7 separate regions of the Homo sapiens genome follow, and regions 1, 2, 3, 4, 6 and 7 are each linked to region 5. The links are contacts of gene promoters, found by promoter capture Hi-C in blood cells and fetal thymus (Javierre and others, 2016). All regions are on one chromosome and are shown on one strand. The core of a region is centred on a gene start or on the middle of the fragment in contact, and the rest is flanking DNA. Distances in the headings are between cores, read along the strand shown. Region 1 has its middle 7.9 kb from the start of KRAS. Region 2 has its middle 130 kb from the start of KRAS. Region 3 has its middle 120 kb from the start of LMNTD1. Region 4 has its middle 150 kb from the start of LMNTD1. Region 5 holds the start of LINC02909 (long intergenic non-protein coding RNA 2909). Region 6 has its middle 110 kb from the start of KRAS. Region 7 has its middle 39 kb from the start of KRAS.

Region 1 (2,701 bases), core at 165-2,664, 260 kb after region 5:
TGTTGATAAGTTGCCATAAAGAAAATAATAGGACGAATAATCCACTCTAAGTGAGGTCTCTGCAAGTCAATTTAGATCTCTTGGCTTTGCTTCTATCTACATAATACAATAGTACTTCATTTAGGCCAGGCATGGTGGCTCATGCCTATAATCCCAGCACTTTGGGAGGCCAAGGCAAGAGAATCGCTGGAGTCCAGGAGTTTGAGACCAACCTGGCAATGTGGTAACATGGCAAAACGCCATCTCTACAAAAAATACAAAAATTAACCAGGCATGGTAGCATGCGCCTGTAGTCCCAGCTTTGGGGGAGGGGGGATTGCTTGAGCCCAGGAGGTCAAGGCTAAAGTGAGCTGAGATCACGCTACTGCATTCCAGCCTGGGCGATGAATGAGACCTAGTTTGAAAAAAAAAAAAAAGTGCTTTAGTGCTTGGTTTTGTTTTTAAGGATATCAGAAATCAGAAGTATTTTTAAAAATCATTTCCTTCTAATTCCCCAAGCATGTGCTAATTGGACTCCCTGCTGATTACAAGCCTGATTTTCCTACTTTCTGTCTCTTCTCTCTAATCACAGTTGTTGGATATGTTGTCAGGTGCTTCTAGTTCATTCATGGTGATATGTATTCAAATAGAGCTTTATTTGTGCACATCAGTTTAACATTATGGAGTCTAGGGGCATTAACCCTTTGGGCCCAGACATCTCATTTAGGATCCACATGTCCTCAGTTGAATAAGGCAAGTCACCTTTGAGGTAAATTCTTTTTGGAAGATTGTTCTGCCTTGTCAATAATTTTTTATATTAGAAGTCTATAAATGTAGAGAGGTGGTAAATGGAAGTATAAATGATTATTTCACTTTAATCTGAATTATTTTCATAAATAGTTGTAATGCCTGCATAAATTAATTCTATCTTAATGTATGAAAACCTCAACAAACTCAAACATTACCATTTGTTACAGGCCCTTAAGAAGCCAATATTAGCAGGCTAGGCACGGTAGCTCACACCTGTAATCCCAGCACTTTGAAAGGCCGAGGCCGGCGGATCCTTGAGGTAAGAAGTTCAAGACCAGCCTGGCTACATGGTGAAACCCCGTCTCTACTAAAAATACAAAAATTAGCTGGGCGTGGTGGTGGACGCTTGTAATCCCAGCTACTAGGGAGGCTGAGGCAGGAGAATTGCTTGAATCCAGGAGGTGAAGGTTGCTATGAGCCAAGATTGTGCCACTACACTCCAGCCTGGGCGACAGGGCAAGACTCTAAAAAAAAAAAAAAGAAGCCAATATTCAATATTAGCTAATCTAATATGTTAATAACATTTTATTCATTCAGTCAGTCAATAGGTATTTCTTTACTGAGCCCTTACTATATGCCCGGTATCATCTTTGATATTTGGGATGCATTGGTATACCAAACAGACACATATCTCTGCTATCTTGGAAGTCACATTCTAAGGCAGTGCTCCTCAGACTTTTTGATGTCAGGATCATTTCACATATTTAGAAGTTATTTGTTTAAAATAATAATAAACCCATCACATATTAACATAAATAACATTATGAAAATAATTATATTTTTAAAAATATGTAATGAGAAGAGTGGCATCGTTTTAACATATTTGCAAATCCTTAATGCCTTGTTTAATAGAAGAGGCTAGATTCTCAAATCTGCTCCTGTATTCTCTCTGTTATATCACATATAACCTCTGGAAAACTCCACTGTACACTCATGAGAGAAATGAAAATGAAAAAGGAAAATAACATCTCACATCTCAGTATTATTATGATTAGAGATTTGACCTTCCAGACCTCCTGAAAAGGTCTTGGAACCCCCCACCTCTGAACAAGGGTGCCTGTAGAACACTGAGAACTGCTGTTCTAAAGAATTTTTTATCAATTTTTTTTTTTTTTGCTAATGAAACAGGGCCAAATTGAATAAAGACCAATGCAATAATTAGCTTTTCCAAAACTATTGTTTTACTCCTCAGAACAGGTTATCTGATTCCCTCTTAGACAGTATCTATTGATAATGGTAACCAGGATAAATTATTGTTAAGATAATATACAAAGTAAAACAGATGCCCGAAATGATGCACTTTTTTGCAATAACTGAAATTTCTTGTTTTTAGGTCAGTCTTGTGTTCTTCAGCATCTTGAAGTACTTTACAAATTTTAATTAATTGAACTTCCCAAGATGCCAATAAAATGTTTCCAAATACAAATTTTGTGCACTTTGTAAACAGTTTGACAGGGTAACAGGGCTTGTCCTAGCTTGAAGGAAAGCTGTGAGCAAAACCAAAGAATTATTGTGTATTTATTGTGACTATAAACACACTATATTGTCTCCAGACTTTTTTTTTTTTTTGAGACAGAGTTTCCCTCTTGTCGCCCAAGCTAGAGTGAAATGGCGCAATGTCAGCTTACTGCAACCTCCACCTCCCAGGTCCAAGTGATTCTCCTCCCTCAGCCTCCCACATAGCTAGGATTACAGGCACCCGCCACCACGCCCAGCTAATTTTTGCATTTGTAGTAGAGATGGGGTTTCACCAGGTTGGCCAGGCTGGTCTCGAACTCCTGACCTCAGGTGATCCACCCGCTTCAGCCTCCCAAAGTGCTGTGATTACAGGCGTGAGCCACCGCACCCGGCCTAGACTGTTTTAATTTACCATGTTTGTCAGGAGAATGGACTATGTTGTTATAATGAAAGT
Region 2 (2,700 bases), core at 119-2,618, 380 kb after region 5:
AAATTAGAAACCAGTGAGTCATCCTTAATTTCCTTCTCCTTTACCCCCACATCCAATTGTCAATAAGTCCTCACTATTTTACCTCAGAAATTTCTCTGATATCTTGACCCTTTCTCTCTCACTCCATAGCCACTACCCTAATCTTCTAAGTCTGTGTTTTTAAGCTTTCTTCAACCATGACCCACGGTAAGAAATACATTTTGCATTGTGACACAAGAAATGCATTCTGGGCTGGATGTGGTGGCTCACGCCTCTAATTCCAGCACGTTGGGAGGCGAGGCGGGCGGATCACTTGAGGTCAGTAGTCCAAGACCAGCCTGGCCAACATGGCAAAACCCAGTCTCTACTAAAAATACAAAAATTAGACAGGCGTGGTGGCTGGCACCTGTAATCCCAGGTACTTGGGAGGCTGAGGCACGAGAATTGCTTGAACCCGGGAGGCAGAGGTAGTAGTAAGCCGAGATGGCGCCACTGCACTCCCAGCCTGGGCAACAGAGCGAGACAAAAAAGAGAGAAGGGAAGGGAAGGGAAGTGTAGGGTAGGGTAGGAGGGGAGGGGAGGATTCTGTGAAAGCAAAATATCTTAGGCCTCCAAAATCACTATGGAGAACTCAAGCTGGAAACTACTTAGGGCAAACCTGCCTCTCATTCTATTCAAAGTCACCCCTTTGCTCACTGAGATAGATGCATATCTAATTGCCTCCTTTGGGAAGGCTAATCAGAACCTCAAAAGAATGTAACTGTTTGTGTATCACCTATCTGTGACCTGGAAGCTCTCTCCCCACTTCCAGTCCTCCTGCCTTTGCTTCAAGTTGTCCTGCCTTTCCAGACTGACCCAATGTACTTCTTACATACATTGATTGATGTCTCATGTCTTCCTAAAATGCATCAAACCAAGCTGTGCCCTGACCACCTTGGGTACATGTTGTCAGGACCTCCTGAGGCTGTGTCATGGGTGCGTCTTCAACCTTGCCAAAATAAACTTTCTAAATTATTTGAGACCTGTCTCAAATTTTCGGGGTTCATAATTCTGAAGTTCAGATTTTTAATAAAGTCACTTTTATATAAAACACAATTTTGTAAAATGTAGCCAAGAGGGAATCTACTCAAGATTTAAATCCAACAATTAACTATCCATGTTTTCCTCATTTTAACATTATACTTCATGGTTTCAATCTTGTCATACTTTTTATCCAAAATGACAGTGTCTATGTTGAAAGTTAACGTTTCTGTAGTTAAACATGCTAAATTTTAAGTAAGCTCACTTTCTTCATTTTAAATAGTTAAATCTATCATAGAGGAGAGTTTATTAAAAATTTAAACTGCCCAGAAAGTTTATGCATAACCTGTAATTATGAATACATAAAATGGGAGATGGATGAAACAACATTTTTTGGTTGTGACCCACTAAAATCATTTCAGGATTCACTAACGGGTTGTGAACCACAGTTTGAAAAACCCCTGTTCTAGGCTCTCGTGATCACTTGTCTAAGTTACAGTTACTTCCCATCTTGTCTCTTTGTCTCCAGTCTGGCTTCTGTGCAGCTACCTTTCTGAAAAAAGACAGCTCTAACCCTGTCACTTTTTTCTTAGAAAAAAAAAATGTCCTTGGAGCCTGACTCATTATTACCTGTAAAGTAAAATCCATATTTCTTTTCTTTCTTTCTTTTTTCTTTTCTTTTCTTTTTTTTTTTTTTTTTTTTTGAGACAGAGTCTCACTCTGTTGCCCAGGCTGGAGTTCAGTAGTGCAATCTCGGCTCACTGCAAACTCCACGTCCCAGGTTCAAGTGATTCTCCTGCCACAGCCTCCTAAGTAGCTGGGACTACAGGCATGTGCCACCATACCCGACTAATTTTTTGTATTTTTAGTAGAGATGGGGTTTCGCCATGTTGGCTAGGCTGGTCTTCAACTCTTGACCTCAAGTGATCCACCCGCCTCGGCCTCCCAAAGTGCTGGGATTACATGTGTGAGCCATCACGCCTGGCCAAAATCCATATTTCATAGCATGATATCTAGGGTCCTCCACAACCAGCCCCACTGTAATATTTCACCCTTATCTCTACCCAGTGCCCTCACTCTCCACTACACCTCACTTCCATGAACTTTCCCCCCACTTGCTAACTCTCCTATCTCCATCTTTTCACCACTGCTGTTCCCTCCACTTGACATGCCCTTCCCCTCCGGATAGGTCTGTTAATCCTACTTTATTCTTCCATAGCCAAGTATCAATGGCATTATTTCTTTATACCTTCTCCACCTTCACCCTCACCTCTGAGAGTCTCGCAGATTAATTGCTCCCTCATTCAACATAGGTACCATCATGTTGGACACAAAGTACGACAGGGTTGAAACCATAAAGTGCAATGTAGGGTTTATTACCTGGAAAATAAATGACAAAAAAAAATGGAGAGTTAATTGTTGTATTTAAATCTTGAGTAGATTCCCTCTCTTAGTTGCATTTTGCGAATTGTTCACATCGCATATAAAAGTGACTTTATTAAAATTTGAACTGCAAAATGCATTTCTTGTGTCACAATGTAAAATGTATTTCTTACCATGCCTCATGGTCGAAGAAAGCTTAAAAACACAGAAGATTAGGGCAGTGGCTACAGGGTAAGAGAGAAGGGTCAAATCAGAGAAATTTCCGAGGTAAAATAATCAGGACTTATTAAGGACTCGTTAAGCCTTGACAATTTTGGC
Region 3 (2,700 bases), core at 67-2,566, 440 kb after region 5:
GTGAATGATGTCATCCTCCATAAAAGCAGATTTTAATTTCTTTTAAGATACCAGTGGAAGTTGTGACCCAGAAATGCCCCAATGAGACCTTACAGATGGCTATTTTCCTGTGCTGTTTGGCATATGTTCATGAAAACCACAGGGGAAAATTGGCTTTGACATGCTTGTGCTTTAAGGTATATGCTGCAGTACCTTGTAAAGGTTCATTTTATTGCCAAATATAACATTCAGTTACCAACTGGAAGTGTAAAAGTTCATATTTTCTTTTTTCTGTTTTTTTTTTTTTAACTTTTAAGACATTATATTTACTAAGATTCTGGCGATAGCTTTATGTAACAAGACACAGCATACCAGGCTTGCTACTCAACTTGTTTATGGTAAGTCTCAGCCTCAATATGAAGCTGTATTTTTTTTAAAAATCAAAACCCTGCTTTTTATATGCTCAATATCTTGGCAAGTGTGCCATTAAACACAGCAGTGAACTTAAGACAGCAAGAGAAAGGAGTTAACAAAAGCTAAACATTGCAGCCTAAACAAACTTCATACAAAAAATAAAGGAACTATCACTGGTTACATGGAATTTTCCTGACTAATTAAAACTTTATGGTATGAAACATGCACTTTAGAATATTTAGTTTTCAAGTTCAAAAAGTACCAGTGTACCAGTGTCTATTTGAAACCATTTCTCTCCAAAGCCAAAGTGTCATCAAAATTAATTCAAATGACCCAGCATATTCTAATGCTAAAAAATATTCAGTATTATTGAAGTGGAGGTAAATCCCAGGGGTTTTGGGGCTTTCTCATGCTGCAAAAGGGCTGTTTCTCTGGTTCATTCAAAGAAGCGTATGACAAAATCCAAGGATGTCCCTAAGCTCAGTAAAAGGCAAGACTCCTGGCACCCAGCTCTGACCTCTCCATAAAGCCTGGCTACTCTTTCCTCAAATACAGGAAGTGTGAGGATCAAAGGCATGTTGTTCTCCTAGCTTAAAGAGACAGCAAAGCACCTCCTCCCTGCATCCTAAAAAGCACCTTTCCCAGGTAAATAAAAGTCTACACGGGGAAAAAATTAAAATACACTGATCTACAGAGTACGGATTTTGAAATGTCAATGTAATCCTTACTTCAAAAATTTTAACTACTTTAAAATTTTTAACATCTGGCCGTTTCTGATTCCACCTTAAAGATGTATTCAAGTTGGATTTCTGTTGATTTATCATTGTACACTTCTAGTCAAAAATATTAATTTTATTCCCAAATATTGTAACCACTAGTGCTACTGCAATGTATTATCTCCCAGAGTTATCAAGCACTGGAAGAGAAAAGAATAGATAAGCAGCAGGCAACATTTACGGCCCTTGCACACAGCGGCATTTGAATAGCTACTGGGTAGTCTGGGGATAATTCTTTTTTTTTTTTTGAGATGGAGTCTTGCTCTTTTGCCCAGTCTGGAGTGCAGTGGCACCATCTCAGTTCACTGCAACCTCTGCCTCCCGGGTTCAAGTGATTCTCCTGCCTCAGCCTTCCAACTAGCTGGGATTACAGGCACCAGCCACCAGGCCCAGCTAATTTTTGTATTTTTAGTAGAGACGGGGTTTCACCCTGTTGGTCAGGCTGGTCTCAAACTCTTGACTTCAGGTGATTCACACGCCTTGGCCTCCCAAAGTGCTGGGATTACAGGCGTGAGCCACTGCGTCTGGCCAGTCCAAGGATAATTCTAAAAACAAGAAAATTCATGCATTATAGTAAATATGTTGTAATTTTCACAGTTGAAATTTCCTTAGACATTGTACTTTCTCTATAAGGGAATCCTGATTTTTCTTAATATTATGATGAGTCAGGACTTGAACTAGCAGCCTTCTTTCTCTTCTTACTGTTTTTCTCATGCTCCTTTTTCCTTTTTTTGTGTTGTTTTTTCTCATTCTTCACTGCTTTTCTTCTTTTTTGCTCTTATCTCCTCAATATACTCTGATTCTGACAAGGACTCAGGTGATAAAGATTTATCTTCAGAATATGGGTTTCTTTTTGCTGAGTCGTTTAATAGCCTTTTTCTTTCTCAGTTGGGTCCTTCTTTTTCTTTAAAAAGAAGTCTTTCTTCCTTATTGTCTTTCTATCCTTACTGTCTGATTCAGTTTCTGACATGGAGCTTTCAGAAGATTTATGTGAATGGTTCTTTTTCTTTCTCCCTTTTCCATGTTTCTTATCCTCATCCTCAGAATCAGAAGAACTGCTGGAAGAATCAGAGCATGATGAAGACGATGAATACCTACCAGATTTATTCTTTTTCTTTTTTTTTCTCTTTTTTTGGATAAGCTCTTACTTTCACTTAACAATTTCTTCCTGTGTTTTTCTAGTTTTTTCTTCAAATTCATACAAAGCCTTGGCGCCTTTTTCTTTTTCTTTTCTAGTTGCTCTTGCACTTCTTCCCAGATAGGCCTTGGTTGACGGAGAGAATCCTGGATTGTTGGCCCTTAAGACTGGATTGGACCCCTTGATCTGGCCATTGCTGTTGGATTCACATAGGCTACCCGATGGTCCTGCTTCTCCTTGGTGCCCGAGTGAGCGCACAGTCACTCATCAAGGGACACGGTCACCCACCAAGGGAAACCTGGCTCGGGAGGCAGCTGAAGTAGGCCTGCCGCAGGTCCTTCTGCACTAAAAGTTCGTATTTTCATGAAAATCTTACCAATGTGTTTAGCAGGC
Region 4 (2,770 bases), core at 250-2,749, 410 kb after region 5:
TCTCAACCAGCCTGCTGTATAGTTTTCTTTTTTCAAGACAGAGTCTTACTCTGTCACCCAGGCTGGAGTGCAGTGGCACAATCTCGGCTCACTACAACCTCTGCCTCCTGGGTTCAAGCAAATCTCCTGCCTCAGCCTCCCAAGTAGCTGGCATTACAGGCGCCTGCCACCACATCCGGTAAGTTTTGTATTTTTAGTAGAGATGGGGTTTCATCATGTTGCCCAGGCTGGTCTCAAACTCCTGACCTTGTGATCTGCTCTCCTCAGCCCCCCAAAGTGTTGATATTACAGGCATGAGCCACTGCGCCCAGTCTTCCTGTTGTACAGTTCTTATCCTGGGATCTTCCTTCACTTTCATACTGAGTATTCTGTTTGCTTTTCCTTACAGTTTATTGGCTTGCTGGTATTGGCGGGACCACTTCCTGTAGTATCTTCTTGGAAAAAGTAAATGATAATTAAATCTTTTGAGACCTCACAAGTTTGAGAATTTCTTATTCTATCATTGCATTTACTTGATAATTTGGCGAGGTATAGAATGCTGGGTTTGAAATAATTTTTCCTCAGTACTGTGAAAGCTGCTTACAATTTTTTTTTTTTTTTTTGAGATGGAGTATGGCTCTGTTGCCTAGGCTGGAGTGCAGTGGCGCAATCTTGGCTCACTGCAAGCTCTGCCTCCTGGGTTCACATCATTCTCCTGCCTCAGCCTCTCAAGTAGCTGTGACTACAGGTGCCCGCCACCACGCTCGGCTAATTTTTTTTGTATATTTTTTAGTAGAGACGGGTTTCACCATGTTAGCCAGGATGGTCTTGATCTCCTGACCTTGTGATCTGCCTGCCTCAGCCTCCCAAAGTGCTGGGATTACAGGCGTGAGCCACCACACCTGGCCGCTGCTTACTATGTTTGAGCCTTAAAGCTGCTGTTGAGAGACCAGTGACATTCTAATTTCTGATGCTGTATATTTGACTTGTATTGTTTTCTGTACTGAAAGCTTTAGGGTATTCTCTTTGTCCTAGTGATATGAAATTTCAGAAATTATGCATTTTCCCATCTATTAAATGGGTATTTGACAGGTCCTCTTAATGTGGAAAGATATTCTTTAGATGTAGGAAATTGTCTTCAATTTCTGAAAAATAATCTTTTAAATTTAGTTTTCTCTTTCTGGGACTACTCTTAGTCATATGCCTGTCAGTACTTGTAGGTCATTTTCCTTGGGGTGATCAGTTTCCCAAAATAGGAATTCTCTGGGAGTGAAATGCCAGGCTGCTAGTGTTTTGAGGGCCCAATAAAAGAAAATGGCTGTGAAATTTCACCATTCAATATGTGAACACTCAACCATGCATCAACTGAAAGTGGAAGGCTCAAATTCAGAGACTGTCTCTCTGGTTCAACTTCACCAGAGAATAAGTTTCTCATCATACAGCTTAGAGGGCAAAGAAATCATTTGGCTGTCTAGGGTACAGGAGGAGACATGGAGGTCACGTGGCTTCCTATAGACTTTCAACCAATTCTACTATTCTTGGTCACACCCTCACCTCCATGAAAGTTACCATGTACTTCCAAGTTCTGAACTTTTCCAGGGTCCTAGGGTTTGCTTTTTGTTGGCATTCCCTCACTGCCTGGTTTAGATTTCCTCTTCCTCAGGTTTCTTAAGTCAGTTACCATATATGCAATTGCTTTCTTTCATTAAAAAATTTCTATGCATCTGTCTCCACTACCATTTTTTCCTTGTAATATTTTACTTTTTGAACTCTTTACTCTTATTTGAGTATGATTAAGAGAGAAGAGAGAATAGAAGTTTAAAGAAGCTGTATTTACTATGTCTTTAATTATTACAAGGCTATATGTAATATATATATACACAATATTATATTCAGTCTCCGTAGAGACTGTCAAAAATTGCTAATGCCAACTATATTACAAGTCTTCATGGCAGGATATTGGGAAATGTTTTCAATTAGCAATAATTGTGCCTCGGATAAACCTCATTGGCTATGATACTGCCACTGTGCAAAGCTTATATGTAATACTTTAAATGTGGATTATGAGAGACTATAAGAAGAAACATTTTCAGTTGCATGAAATAAATAATCTGAACAAGAATCTTTGCCTCCTGTTATCTGAGATTTTTCATGTAAATATGCATTTTATAGCTGGAAGACCACATAGCTTTACCACTTAGATTCATTGTTTAGCATATTTGGCAGTAAAAAACACAAAAGAAAAATGTTAAAAGTTACCATTCATACTCCCACCGTTTAAAAAGAATAATTTATTATACAAAGTAAAAAGTAAAAGTACAATTCCCACTTCCAGGAAGATGGAGTAGATATTCTTTTCCCTGTTCTTCTCACTAAGAACAACTGAAAACCCTGAATATTATATACAAAACAAACATAAGAGAAGACTGACGCTGGGAGAGAGGAAAGCAGACTGGCCAGGGACCTAGGAACCTGAGGATCAACATACTGGTGAGTTTCCCGGGGTTTTGTTTTTGGCTTATATATCCCAGCCCTGGAGCTTCAAAACCTGGCTACCCAGAAACATTAACTGGCATCGACAAAGCAAACAAACAAACAAACAATCCCAATAAAAGCCTGCTCTCTCTAGCCAAAGAAGTAGGAAAGAGGCAACCTACCAAAACAGAAATCTTTAAGACAATATTTACCCTACTATAGCCAAACACCACAGAAAAAACTGTGTCCCCACCCTCACTTGTGCCAGCGGAGGCCACGTGACAGAGCCTAGCCTTCCTGCCTCAAGAGGCTGTCA
Region 5 (2,700 bases), core at 167-2,666:
TGTGGGTACCTTATTAGAACTGTCAGGAGGTAATATTACATAAATAATGAAATAACATGTTAATGCAATTCATTACAGGTTCGTTGGAATTTATTGTTCAGGTTATTCCTTTCACTGCTCTGAGAAACATCAGGTATACTAGACTCACCTGAAGCAGGATGTAAGCGTATAATTTGTCAGACGGGCAATATGGTCTAGTGGATCCAGAATTTGAATATTATTTCTGGCTCTGCTGCTGGCTTCCTTTATGACTAGGAGGGAAATGTCTCTGGGTGTTGCCAGTTTCGGTATCTGTGGATTGATAAGCAGATCGCAAGCATGGATGTTATAATAGGTTATTTCATGGGAAATTAAACAGCAAATCTAATGAGAGGAGCGGGTTACTTGGTCATTTCTTTCTAGGTGCTATTTGGTGCTTTAAGAGGACCTCTAGTATTGGATAAGTTAAAGGAGTTTCAGAAAGTGCATCATAACAACATTACTGAGAGCTCAGAATGTGCTACATGGTTCTGAGGGCCATCTGCGTATTAACCTCATTTAATCCCTGCAGCACACCCGGAGGTCATTGCATGATATTGATGCAATTTTACAGATGAAGAAACTGAAGCACATATGGTTAAATAATTTGTCCAAGATCACAAAGCTAGTAAGCAGCAGAACTGGGGTTTGAACTCAGGTTATTTAAACTCAGAGCCCCAGTTCTTATTCCCCAGTATTTGACTCCCCTTTGCTCTCACCTGGTGATAGAAATGATAATGACCAGGCTGAGCGCAATGGCTCACACCTGTAATCCCAGCACCTTGGGAGACTGAGGCAGGTAGATCGCTTGAGCTCAGGAGTTTGAGACCAGCCTGGGCAACACAACAAAACCCCATCTCTACAAAAGATACAAAAATTAGCTGGCTGTGGTGGCATGCCCCTGTCATTTCAGTTACTTGGCAGGCTGAGGTGGGGGAGTGGCTTGAGCCCAGTAGGCAGAGATTGAAGTGAGCTGAGATCGTGCCACTGCACTCAAGCTTGGGCAACAAAGCAACACTCCATTTCCAAAAAACAAAAGAAAAAGTATGAGATTTAACTTAAAAATAATTTTCCTTCATCTGATTAGAAAGTATAATCAGGATGAGCTTTAGTGTGTTGTTTTTTGTAGAGCCGGGCGGGGACCGGGGGTGGGGGGGGGTCTCACCATGTTGCCCAGGCTGGTCTTGAACTCCTGGGCTCAAGCGATCCTCCCACCTCAGCCTCCCAAAGTGCTGGGATTACAGGTGAAAGACACTGCACCTGGACTATCTTTCTGTTATTGCTGTGGTGGGGAGCACACCAAAATAGTGCCTGTCATCCTCATCCTTCCTAGGCATCTTTCCCAGCACTGCTGCTGTGATTAGTACCTTAACTCCAGCCTAGGCAGGTGCAGTGCATCAGCGGCTCTCTTCTCTAGCTTCTTTTACCTCAGCCCAAGCCACTCTGTAGAAATGGGCTCCACCCATGTCATCTGACCTGTAGGTCTCCACTCTTTCTTCCCAGTTCTCAGATGGTTCTTGGAGCACTGGCGAAGTCAAGCGAAAATAAGGTGGTGAGTTTTCCCCAACGAAATAATTAAATTTTGGCTGATGCTGGCCTTTAGTCATCGAAGGCCGAGAAAGTACCGCCCTAACCAGGGAAAAGCAATATCAGATGTAGGCTGTTCTGTTGTGTCTCAACCTCAAAATGCTTGTGGCAAAAGGGACAAACCTCCAATAAGTCTATATTAGAGGTTCAACAGAGTTCATTGAAAACTTGAAACAAATCTGAAAAGAAAAACACTCTACAAATAGGGAAAAAAGATGGGTAGCTGAGAGTGATAAAGTGAGATTCCCCAGATATGTTGCTGTCACCACAGGCAAATCTCAAATTGTTTTCAATGGAGCTTTTGGAAATTTAAATTAATCCTGCCATTTTCAGGCTTGGTCGTTTGGAATGTGTGTTAGTGAAACGCAGTGATGTAGTTTTATAGACTGTAAGAACCTTGGAGGCACCTGAATTCTTGAAGCTAGAGATTTATTGTAGGTCTTCTCTTGTTCTCTGAGAAGAAAACCAGACTTCATATAACAAGAAGTGAGACAGAAGAACAGTTTTCAGAAGCATGTGTCACTCTGCTATTTTAGGAATTGTTCCAATAAGAGATGTTTATAGTAAGCTTGGTGTGACCCAGCCAAGAAGCTTAATATAACAAGGTTAACTGAATTGTGGGAGGAAAGTTTCTAGCCTATACCAGCTTGCATTTATTAATAATCAGAAAGGTTGCGGATGACAGACTTGCTGAGCATTTACTAAATCTGGTACTTGTGGTTTGCAAATCATGTGATTAACAGCTGCTATCATCTATCCTAGAAACGGCAGGAAGAAGTGTTATTATTTTATCACATAAAATAGTAGTCACAAAGAGAATGAAAACAGTTTAATTTGGCAGATATAAAATTCACTGGTTAAGCAGAAAACCATGCTCTGCCCTCCCACTGAGCTCACTAAAGATGGGTTTCCTGGGAATGTCTCAGTGAACAGATGTTTCTTCTTAGGTTTTGATGAAGAGTTTAGTGGCATCTAATCATTAGTGAAGGGTTGTTTTGGCAAAAGGAATCTCTTGTCTATCTACACACATACTTAAATTTTTTTTTTTACGTATATTAAGGATTTTGCATTAATTACCAATAGGATCTCACATAG
Region 6 (2,700 bases), core at 171-2,670, 360 kb after region 5:
CTCACTGCAGCCTCGACCTCTCCGGCCCAGGTAATTCTCTCACCTCAACCTCCTGAGGAGCTGGGACTACAGGTGTGCGCCACCACACCAACTAATTTTTTGTAGAGACGGGGTTTCACCATGTTGCTTAGGTTGTTCTGGAACTCCTGGCCTCAAGTGATCTGCCCACCTAACACAGGTGTTAGCCACTGTGCCCAGTCGGATTTCATCTCAATAACAATACAAAGAAAATGATTAAAGCTGCCACTTATAGATTGTGTTTGTAAGATATTGCAGCCTTACTCCCCCACCAACCCCACTTCCAGTGGTATATTTAAAATATCAGTAGTATTACTATTATTATTCTCTCTTTTTATTTTTTAGACCAGGTCTTACTCTGTCACCCAGGTTAGAGTGCAGTAGTGTGATCACTGCTCACTGTAGCCTCGACCTGCTGGGCTCAAGCAATCCTCCCAGTTCAGCCACCCGAGTACCTGAAACTATGTGTGTGCCACCATGTTTGGCTAATTAAAAAAAAAAAAATGTAGAGATGAGATCTTACTATGTTGCCCAGGTTGGTCTTGAACTCCTGAACTAAGAGATCCTCCTGCCTCAGCCTCCCAAAGTGCTAGGATTATAGATGTGAGCCATCGCACCTGGCCTACTCTAATTTTTTAATAAGAAAAGGAAATCAGAGAGAGAGCAATTTTTCCAAGGTGATATGAAGATTACAGATCAATTAACAGCTCTTGGTTTAGTCAGCTCTGCTGTTATTTCTCAACTCTTTGTTTCCCAGAGAAATCTATGTTCATCATTCTTCACATCATCACTGAAGATAGGAAGGTATTCACGTTCCTGATCCAGGACATGAGAGGGTATTTTGCATTAGTAGTTGCCAAACCACATGATTTCTTTCTCTTTTTTTCTTTTTGAGATGGAGTCTCGCTCTGTTGCCCAGGCCCAAGTGCAGTGGCGTGATCTCCACTCGCTGCAACATTTGCCTCCTGAGTTCAAGCAATTCTCCTGTCTCAGCCTCCTGGGTAGCTGGGATTACAGGCGCCCACCACCACGCCCAGCTTATTTTTGTGTTTTTAGTAGAGACAGGATTTCACCATGTTAGCCAGGCTGCAAACCACATGATTTCTGAGGTTTCTTATAAACTTGACATAACTTCAGGGGGAAAGCGTTTAGTACTATATAATACAATACATGATATATATGTAATTATATCTATATTATGTAGTATATAACATATATTAAATATATAACAAAGATTTATTTGGTAATATATAATATAGATTTACTCAGTTTTAATATCTTTTTTTTTTTTTGAGACAGAGTCTCGCTCTGTTGCCAGGCTGGAGTGCAGTGGCACAATCTCGGCTCACTGCAAGCTCCGCCTCCCATGTTCACACCATTCTCCTGCCTCAGCCTCCCGAGTAGCTGGGACTACAGGTGCCCGCCACCATGCCCAGCTAACTTTTTGCCCAGGGGTTTAGTAGAGAGGGGTTTTCACCGTGTTAGCCAGGATGGTCTCAATCTCCTGACCTCGTGATCTGCCCTCCTTGGCCTCCCAAAGTGCTGGGATTACAGGCGTGAGCCACTATGCCCGGCCCAGTTTTAATATCTTATCAAATGCTACCTATTTGTTATAAAATATATGAACAATATAAAATGTGGTGAACACAAAAATTAGGGTAGATGCTCTACTTCATACAGATTTTTCTCGGTGACCATGTCAGAGCCAGTTTCTTGCTCCCTTTTCTGAAGAACCATTTATTTCCCTTTCAATTTTGCTTCTAGGTCGGAACCGCCCTGTTTTTACATGACCCCACATCCCCAGCCACAGGGAAAGATCAAGGAGAGGGCATGCGAATCAATCTGGGCAATGAGAGTACTTACATTCTTGGTCACGGTAATTGGGGGCAGAAATGGACCTGTGGCCCAAGCCAGGTCAATCACAATCCTTTCCTGAGATTTTTACTGACTCAACATGGGGAGGAAGAATTTTCTTCTCAAATGCTGTTAAGATGTGAGCCTAGAACCTGCCAGCAGTGGCCATGTCTCCACTGGGTGAAGAAAGCAAGTCCACAGTTAAGGAGGAATAAAGCTGAAAGCTAGAAAGAAAAATAGCAGTGAGTCTTGATGGCATTTAGATCCTTGGTTTTAGAGATGCCTCAGGACAGCTTCACCTATGCCCTTCCTACATTTGGGTACATGACCTAATAAATTCCCACTTGCTTTTGCTAGCTCAAATAGCATTCCTTTCATTTGTAGCCAAAAATTTCTGATTAGTACAATTAATGTCTAAAGTTGAAAGTGAAATTTTCCCAACCACTTCTCAAAATGTACTAATCAGAGTTTAAGGATACTAGTAACAAGAGCCTAGTCTGATCCATCTTGAACAAATAGGGAAAATTATTTGCTTACATAACCAAGACTTCAGAGAGGTAAGAGTGGGACCTGGTTCCCTGGGAAGCAGGGCCTCATGACTGGCTCTGTCTCATCTCCACTTATCTCTGCATGTTAGCTTTGTTATCTCAGACTGGTTCTCTTCCACTGGGAATGAGAAGGGCCACCAGCAGCTCAAGAATCATCTTGGTGACTATAGAGGGAAGAAATCTTGCTCTCCTTAGAGGAAGTAAATTGGCAGAACCCTCAGAAAGCACTCTGATTAGTCTGGCTTGGGTCACACGCTAATCTCTAGACTAATCACTATGA
Region 7 (2,958 bases), core at 109-2,608, 290 kb after region 5:
AATTATGGTCCTGGCATAAATATGAACAAATAGATCAATGGGATGAAATTGAAAGCCCAGAAATAGATCTACGTATAGAGAATCATTTTAAAAAATGACCAAAGCAATACTATGGGAATACATTTTTCTCAACCAACTTTTGAAATAACTATCAATATAGCAAAAATGAATCTCAACCTCTACCTCACACTGTACACAAAAACTAAATTAAGTTGGGTTATAGTTCTAAACATGAAAGCAAAAACCATAAAGCTTTCAAAGGAAAACAGGAGAATATCTTTGTGCCTTAGAAACAGCTTTCTTAGACATGATATGGAAAGCAATAACCCAAAAATAAAAATTGGATAAACTAGACTTTATGAAGTTAAAAACCTTCAATTATTAAAAAAAATCATCATTAGGAAAATAAGTAGGCAAGTCACAGACTGGGGAAAATGTTTTTAAAATTCTTTGACAAAGGACTGGTAACCAGGATTATAAAGAAATCCTACAACTCAATAATAAAAAGGCAAATATTCGAACAGACACATCATGAAAGGAAGTATACAAATACATAATAAATGTATATGAGAAAAAGCTCAACATTGTCAGTTTCCAGGGAAATGCAAATTAAAAAACGAGAGGCCCCCACATACCTATCAGAATGGCTAAAATTAAAAAGACTAACAACATCGAATGTTGAAGGGTATGTGGAGCAACTGGAACTCTCATACATTGGTAGAGAAGTGTAAAATAGTACAACCACTTTGAGAAGAGGTTTGGTTATTACTTAGAAAGTTAAACATAAACCTATCATATGACCCAGCAATTTCACTAGTATTTACCCCAAGAGAATGAAAACATATGTCCAAATAAAGATGTGTACAAGAATGTTCACAATAGCTTTATTTGTGATAGCCAAACACTGGGAACAGCTTAAGTATCCGTCAACAGGAGAATGGATAATCAAACTGTGATATATTCATACAAAGGAATACAACTCAGCAATTAGAAAGGAATGAACTGATACACTCAACTGTACTCAAAAACACTATGCTAGGTGAGAGAAGAGTGCATGCTGTGTGATTCCTTTTACGTGAGACTAATCTCATCTCTGGGAAAAAAATTTGAACAGTGGTTACCTCTGGAAGACAGACTGGGTTTGACTGGGAAAGGCTATGAAGAAAATCGTGGAAGTATGGTAAAGTTCTGTATCTCAACACGAGTTTTAATCACACAGCTGTGTATATTTGTCAAAATTCAGTGAATGGTACACTTAGGATTTATGCATTTTACTGTATGTAAATTTTTACTACAAAAAAGAAGATAAAAGGCCATAAATAGATATTGATCTCTAGTTAAATATATGCATGCTGAAGTGTTTAGGGGAAAGACCATTGGTGACTGCAATTTACTTTGATAGAAGAATAGATAGAAGGGTAGATATATGATAAAGTAAATACAGTAAAATAAAAAAATCTAGGTAGTGGACACTTGGATGCTCACTGTAACATTATTTAAAACATTGTTTGAAAATATTCAAAATAAAATGTTGGGGAAAATAGCATGGAGACGTGAAGGATGTGGGGAATCTCAGGTGGTGTTCAGTGGCTGGAACATGAGGTAGTTTGGCAAAAGATGAAGTGGGAAAGGCAATCAGAACTCTGATTGTGAAGGGCGTTTCATGTCATGCTTAGGAATTTATATTTTATCCTGTGCAGCAATATTGCTCAACTCTTTCTACTCTCATTGTTACCATCTTCAGTCATACCCTCATTAACCTTCATCTGGGCTTTTACAATGTATTTATTTTATCAAATTGGATTGAACTGAATAAGATACAAAGGATGCACTTATATTTCCTGTGAGTTTACATAATTTTTCCTGCTTTAATGTCAGGCAACTTTGAGATTTTTTTGCATGTAAATAGAAATTACTGTTTGAATGCATTTCCAATGGAGGGTAGCTTCCAAATTGCATCTTTGTTTCTAGGCCTTAGGGCCTTACTTTGAATGTATCCCCAAATAAACAAGGAGCAGACTTCACATGTAAGTTTTACAAATAGGCAATGAGCAATGAATTCACTTTATGTTTCTCAGTATAAAATATTTAAGCAAATGTTGAATACAAAAGACTGTAAAAACACTAGGGGGTTGCAGAAAGTACCTAATTATAAATGATAACCCTTGCCTCCAAGGTTTTGACAGTCAAAATACCTACATTTTATGAAACACAAATAGAATTCTTTGAAATTTATGCTTTGTTAGCTGTAAAGACATGTATTTGCTAGATTCTGTGGGTTTCCCTCCTCTCATTTTTCTATTCCCATTTGATAATGAGATAACTATTTGCAAAGGTGTAATGGTAGATGATATCATAGGTTTGGCCACATTAAGTGTTTACCATCTATGGAGATAAAGCAAAAGGACTGAGCAAGCCTTCTATTTCCCAACAGTTCCCTCCAAACTGCAAACTGACTTCCGCAAGAAGCTTTTAAGAAAATAATTCTTAAAACACAGTATTAATTATGTTCCAGACCATTTCTCCCTTTAAAAAAAATTTGGCTTTCCATTTATTTTATTTTTTTATTTTTCTTTCTTTCTTCTTGTAGCATCTTTTCTGATTTGGGTGATTTTTAAAGTATGGGTATCCCTCAGGAGATTTACTTTTCCAAATCTACTGAGTAAAACATCTATCTGTTCAAGAGAATCTAGTCCATTTTTATTAAATTTTATATTCCCAGAGTTTTGCCTAGTGCCTGACATGAAATATATCTAGAAAACAAATATAATTTGAATAAATAAATTAATGAGTAAACAACAGCCAGACTACCCAAGTACTAGACGATACAACTAATGGTTATAAATCTAAATATTAAGCTAACATATACTCCCCTCTTAGAACTAAATCACAAAGCATTAGACACCCATGCATGTTATCAAATAACCCTTCAGTAAATTACAGGATACACGTTGTATT

Evidence for each region. Contacts are between HindIII fragments. The CHiCAGO score rates a contact against its expected background, and 5 or more counts as called.
Region 1: a fragment that was not itself captured here is called in contact with the fragment with the promoter of LINC02909 in region 5 in 1 of 17 cell types (neutrophils); the score reaches 6.0 in neutrophils.
Region 2: a contact is called between a fragment that was not itself captured here and the fragment with the promoter of LINC02909 in region 5, in 1 of 17 cell types (neutrophils). The highest score is 9.2, in neutrophils.
Region 3: a contact is called between a fragment that was not itself captured here and the fragment with the promoter of LINC02909 in region 5, in 1 of 17 cell types (neutrophils). The highest score is 7.5, in neutrophils.
Region 4: a contact is called between a fragment that was not itself captured here and the fragment with the promoter of LINC02909 in region 5, in 1 of 17 cell types (neutrophils). The highest score is 6.4, in neutrophils.
Region 6: a fragment that was not itself captured here is called in contact with the fragment with the promoter of LINC02909 in region 5 in 1 of 17 cell types (neutrophils); the score reaches 8.1 in neutrophils.
Region 7: a contact is called between a fragment that was not itself captured here and the fragment with the promoter of LINC02909 in region 5, in 1 of 17 cell types (neutrophils). The highest score is 5.3, in neutrophils.

Annotation. Positions count from the first base shown.
Region 1 is chr12:25,257,497-25,260,197 of GRCh38, forward strand. No RefSeq gene overlaps it. Among named protein-coding and RNA genes, the nearest start is that of KRAS, 7.9 kb to the left of the region's middle. The HindIII fragment of the contact is 7,684 bases long and covers 1-2,701 here.
Region 2 is chr12:25,377,990-25,380,689 of GRCh38, forward strand. No RefSeq gene overlaps it. Among named protein-coding and RNA genes, the nearest start is that of KRAS, 130 kb to the left of the region's middle. The HindIII fragment of the contact is 2,413 bases long and covers 163-2,575 here.
Region 3 is chr12:25,433,758-25,436,457 of GRCh38, forward strand. It overlaps the pseudogene FAM133GP. Among named protein-coding and RNA genes, the nearest start is that of LMNTD1, 120 kb to the right of the region's middle. The HindIII fragment of the contact is 4,168 bases long and covers 1-2,700 here.
Region 4 is chr12:25,402,413-25,405,182 of GRCh38, forward strand. It overlaps the pseudogene RNU4-67P. Among named protein-coding and RNA genes, the nearest start is that of LMNTD1, 150 kb to the right of the region's middle. The HindIII fragment of the contact is 1,025 bases long and covers 988-2,012 here.
Region 5 is chr12:24,996,049-24,998,748 of GRCh38, forward strand. LINC02909 (long intergenic non-protein coding RNA 2909) reads right to left here and starts at 1,417. Exons shown (of 4, transcript NR_171024.1): 1 at 1,184-1,417; 2 at 149-291; 3 at 1-19. It also overlaps a transcript of IRAG2 not described here. RefSeq lists enhancers at 1,976-2,105, 2,356-2,465. The HindIII fragment of the contact is 1,157 bases long and covers 1,015-2,171 here.
Region 6 is chr12:25,359,117-25,361,816 of GRCh38, forward strand. No RefSeq gene overlaps it. Among named protein-coding and RNA genes, the nearest start is that of KRAS, 110 kb to the left of the region's middle. The HindIII fragment of the contact is 6,678 bases long and covers 1-2,700 here.
Region 7 is chr12:25,288,825-25,291,782 of GRCh38, forward strand. No RefSeq gene overlaps it. Among named protein-coding and RNA genes, the nearest start is that of KRAS, 39 kb to the left of the region's middle. The HindIII fragment of the contact is 2,217 bases long and covers 251-2,467 here.